2 separate regions of the Homo sapiens genome follow, and region 2 is linked to region 1. The links are contacts of gene promoters, found by promoter capture Hi-C in blood cells and fetal thymus (Javierre and others, 2016). All regions are on one chromosome and are shown on one strand. The core of a region is centred on a gene start or on the middle of the fragment in contact, and the rest is flanking DNA. Distances in the headings are between cores, read along the strand shown.

Region 1 (2,700 bases), core at 81-2,580:
TTATAGTTACTTTATAAAGAGCCACAAAAACTAGTAACTCATTTTGAATATCTATTAAAATTTATTTTTAAAATATCAAGGAAAATATCTTGGAAATAATTAGGACCTACTAGGCACCTACTGAAGCATGCAACATTTAAAATAATCCTCTAAGATAACTTCAAAAATAATCAGCTTACACAAATAGTCAACAGCCTGTATGCATTTCAGTAACCCTGTGTCCTCCCCCTTTTTCATAGTGATAGTTCACCTAATATCAGGGCCTCCATAAGCAGAGTGATAATAAAATATTATTTTAAGTGATTATTTAGCTTCCCTTTTTGTAGCCTTATTCTTTATTTTTTATGCCCTAAGCCAAAGACTTCATGCTAAATGAAAAATGTGCAGTTGAATAACATGATAAATAAAAGAAACATTCTATTGATACTGCATATCTGGGATATTCTAAGTAAATGTTACGCTCTTCAGAAGCAGTACTACTTTTCTAAGTAGACCCCAAAATAAGCAGTACTTTTTGACAAGTAAAATTATGAAGAAAAGACAACTGCAAGCATCAAATATAAAAGTCTAGTCTGAAGAGTTTAACATAGTAGAACTAATGCCATCCTATTAATCAGCACATAATTTAATACATTAAATGAATCCATACAGATTAGTCAAAATAAACTGATTTTCAAGTCAGAGTTTGCTTTTGTTACTGACATCTATATCCATTATAATTTTAACCATTTCATGTCAAAACTACATTTAACAAAATCACTCTTTAAAATAATTTTTATTGTTTGAAATTTTGAATTTGCTAAATGAGAAATTATTATTAATCTTCTCACGAATAGTGATTCCAAATCCAAATCTCAAGAACTCAGAACAGAGTTCTGGAATCAGAACCGAGTTCATAAAGTTGGATTTGGAATAATTATTCACTAGAACATTAAAAATATTTATTAATATCAGGGAGCAAATGTTGTGGTATCAGGTTGTGGTTCATAATTGTGCACATAGGAGGCCCAAATTCAATGGGAATATGAATGAATTAGGGAGGAGAGACAATAATAGAGAAGCTTCCAGAAGACCAAAATACCAAATTATTTGCAGCAAATAAAACTAAGGAAACAACCATACATATTTGGGTGCATGATGATTGATATGGTTTGGCTGTGTTCCCACACAAATCTCATCTTCAGTTGTAGTTCCCATAATCCCCACGTGTTGTGGGAGAGATCCAGAGGTAATTGAACCATGGTACGGTTTCCCCCATGTTATTCTCGTGATAGTGAGTAATTTCTCACGAGGTCTGATGGTTTTTAAGTGGCTTTCCCCTTCGCTCAACACTTATTCTCTCTCCTGCTGCCTGGCGAAGAGATGCTTTCCGCCATGATTTTAAGTTTCCTGAGGCCTCCCCAGCCACATGGAACTGTGAGTCAATTAAACCTTTTTTCTTTATAAAGTACTCAGTCTTGGGGATTTCTTCACAGCAGTGTGAGAACAGACTCATACAGTGATAGACACATGTTGGCGCTTATAAAGTCCTAACCAAGAACATTAGACAATGAAACATCCTTAATTATATAAATTAATGCTTCCAATGAAAACCTCCCACCTCAATAAAGTCAGGCTATAGATTAATTCGTAAAACTGGTATCCAAAAGATAATTTAGTAAGGATTTGGTGAAGTGTCTGTTAGAGCTATAATCTATATGCATGGTTTTAAAAATGCTACCATGGTTTAAGACAAGGTAGATATGGATGTAATCATTTCCTTTGCATTACTTTTGCATTTATACTGCATACCATAATTTGCTTCTAAAAATGGTAAAATGTAGCCTAAAGTGAGTTACTAGATTACTAACATATTAAAGATAATTATGAATGAACTCATTTGGGCCCAACTTGAATTTTTTTCTCATTTACTAAGCAGACCAAAAACTTGTACTCTACTCCTGAGTACTGCACATGTCTCTAGAAAATAAGAGAGAAATAAAACAAGATTTCTCTACCCTGGAATTTTAAAAATATTTTCTAGAGCCCAACTCTTGTCATATCTCTTTTTATAAAGAGCTTCACTTTGTCTCCTAATTAAAATGAACTCTCCACAATATTGTCCTAATCTCCCCTTATTACCAAAAATGACCAAGGTATCATTTTTTTGATATACTCAGTGCTTCCCCAACTTTTATGCTATACCCCATTTTTATGGTTTCACTTTTCACCACCAATTGCAAAAATCTTACACTAATATCAGCTAAAATGTCTCCATTTTCTTAACCACAACCCACTTTGCCCCCAATATTGGCTTCATTTTGAAGTCAGAATTCTTTTTCTCATTATATCCATTATATTTCGTTTTGAAATATATTTACCTTTTCCTTTTTAATATAACTGTTTATTTTTGACCAACATATATTTTTAATCTGCTGTGTGGAGAGATTATAAACAAATAACTAGGAATATATGAGGATCACTTTATCATCTTCAAAACAGTAAAAATAACGCTATATGTGTCCAATGAATAGCAAATTCACGTGTTCCTTTTTTTTTTTTTTTTACATTCAGTTTCAGCTTATAGCACAGCACATTTAGAACCAACATTTCCTCCTAATGTCATTTGTGCTATCAGTAAGAACCTTACCAGCAATGCAGACATGCTGGCTAATGAACTTCCAGTCAAAGGAAACACAACAGGGCATAATTATTGACTCC
Region 2 (2,700 bases), core at 104-2,603, 720 kb after region 1:
TTAATATATAGACCAATAATGGCTTCCTTAGTAGCAAGTAGACTTCACCTTGCTAGCAATTAGGAGGAAATTACTCCTGAATCACATGGAGAAGGGGAACATTTCTTAATAGGTAATTCTTTAAACTTAGAGAACTATGATAGTGCTTAGACTAATATAATTTGTAACAATTTTCCTGTTTTTAAAAAATGTGTCTTTAAAAAATAGAATGTTGGGCTGGGTGCTGTGGCTCACACCGGTAATCCCAGCACTTTGGGAGGCCGAGCGGGGTGGATCACCTGAGGTCAGGAGCTCGAGACCAGCCTGGCCAACATGGTGAAACTTCGTCTCAACTTAAAATACAAAAATTAGCTGGGCATGGTGGCAGTCGCCTGTAATCCCAGCTACTCAGGAGGCTGAGGCAGGAGAATCGCTTGAACCTGGGAGACAGATGTTGCAGTGAGCCGAGATCACGCCATTGCACTCCAGCTTGGGCAACAAGAGCGAAACTCCATCTCAAAATAAATAAATAAATAAATAAATAAATAAAAGAATGTTGAAGGATTAAACAAAACAGGGACATTAAAGATCTTTGGCTATTGTGGGCCTGGCACGGTGGCTCACACCCGTAATCCCAGCACTTTGGGAGGCTGAGGCAGGTGGATCACCGGAGGTCAAGAGATCGAGGCCATCCTGGCCAATATGGTGAAACCCCATCTCTACTAAAAATACAAAAATTAGCTGAGCGTGGTGGCACGTGCCTGTAGTCCCAGCTACTCGGGAGACTGAGGCAGAAGAATCGCTTGGACCAGGGAGTCGGAGGTTGCAGTGAGCCAAGATCGTGCCACAGCACTCCAGCCTGGGCAACAGAGTGAGACTCCATTTAAAAAAAAGTCAACAATATTTAATAATTAATGATTATTACAAATTTTTATATTGTAATACAACAAGGCATCTGCACATATTGATCAATTGTACACTAGAGTTATGATCCTCAATGGGCTTATGGAATAATGATACAAAAACAAGCATTGGAATGACTATAATACATAATATAAACTGTTATGAGATTTTGGAGATGGGAGAGGTTACTTCTAAGAATGAAAAGTATCATAGCCAGTAATAGGAACTGTTCTCCATCAGTATTTTCAAGTTCCAAATTCATTATCCTTCTATGTAACCCATCTACTAAGTGCTACCAATAAATCATTCCCCAAATCTGCCTTCTCAGCTTGTAAACCTAATTGACTATTAAAACACCAACAGAAAAAAAATCAGAAAACAAATGTGAAATGATGCCACCAAAAGTTCATAGTTTTTATGAATGGAAATGAATGAATAAAATAGTAAATTTTATTGAATGAATGAATGAATGAATAAAAAAGTAAATTTCATAGATTTTATGAACTTTTGGTGACATCATTGGGACCCAGAATCACTAGTCAATTTTTATTTGGCTTCGCTCAATTCTTTCCTTCATTCTTTTGGGCATTGTTTTATTTTATTTTATTTTTTTGTAGAGACAGGATCTAGCTATGTCGATCAGGCTGGTCTCGAAGTCCTGGCCCCAAGTAATCCTTCCACCTTGGCCTCCCAATGTGCTGGGATTATGAGTGTGAGTCATCGTTTTGGGCAATTGCTTTGAAAGAACAACACTCTGTTCATATCCCTGTTCCTGTCTCCTACAGAAATCTCCATTACTCTCCACTTCTCTCAGCTCTTTTATTTCCTTGGGAAACTTGTAGTCAGCAAATGTGTAGTTCTACAACTTTTTATACCACCCCTCACCTACAGATATATATGCATCATATCTTCTGCCATCTACAGTAAAGGGCTTATATATTTAGTTATTTTAGAGACGGGGTCTCACTCTGTTGCCACACTGGAGTGCAATGGTGCAATCATATTATGCTAACTTCAGATTTGCGCCTCAGCCTCCCAATTAGCTGGGACTACAGGCATGTGCCACCATGCCTGGCTAATTTTTAAATAAAATTTGTAGAGTTGGGTCTCACTATGTTGCCCAGACTGGTTTTGAACTCCTGGCCTCAAGTGATTCTCCTTGAGGAAACAGTAAAGAGGACTTTGTCTTGCAACTTGGATACCAGTTCAGCCAAAGTAAAATAAAGCACCAAGCAGGCCCCCATTCCAGGACGTTGCTCCTGGATGTAATTTCTAGACTTACCCTGGGTCAGGAGAGAACCCACTGCCCTGAAGGAAAGAACCCAGTCCTGTCAGGATCCATCATATGCTGATTAAAGAGCCCCTGGGCCTTGAATAAACATCAACAGCAGCCAGGCAGCAGTTGTCGTGGGCCTTCGGCAAGATCTAGTGTCATACTGGTTTCAGGTGTGACCAGCACATTCCCAGCTACAGTGGCCTTGGCCATAGGCCTCCTTTCCTTTCTACTTTAGGAAAGGAGAGAGGAGTAAAAAGGATTTGACTTTCAGTAAAATTTGACTAAGCCAGTAATATTTGAATGAAGTCTATGCTACTTCATTTTTTATGTCTTATACTTTGAGATACACACCTGGTACTGTAATAGATGTTGAAGATACGTGTTGAGCAAGAGCCCTGATCCTGCCCTCACAGGGTTTACAGGCTGATTGGGTGAGAGACATTAATAATTATATTACTATAGAATGATCAACTGTAATAAATACTATGTAGGAAAAATATTGAATGGTAGGAAAAACTAAAAGGTCAGATTCAGTCTAAAGA

The links. Contacts are between HindIII fragments. The CHiCAGO score rates a contact against its expected background, and 5 or more counts as called.
Region 2: a fragment that was not itself captured here is called in contact with the fragment with the promoter of CACNA2D1-AS1 in region 1 in 1 of 17 cell types (M2 macrophages); the score reaches 5.4 in M2 macrophages.

The regions. Positions count from the first base shown.
Region 1 is chr7:82,007,847-82,010,546 of GRCh38, forward strand. It overlaps CACNA2D1-AS1 (CACNA2D1 antisense RNA 1), which reads left to right and starts at 1,331. Exons shown (of 4, transcript NR_110077.1): 1 at 1,331-1,416. The region is part of intron 15 of CACNA2D1 (calcium voltage-gated channel auxiliary subunit alpha2delta 1); the gene reads right to left. The HindIII fragment of the contact is 1,784 bases long and covers 1,060-2,700 here.
Region 2 is chr7:82,730,593-82,733,292 of GRCh38, forward strand. No RefSeq gene overlaps it. Among named protein-coding and RNA genes, the nearest start is that of CACNA2D1, 290 kb to the left of the region's middle. The HindIII fragment of the contact is 2,912 bases long and covers 1-2,700 here.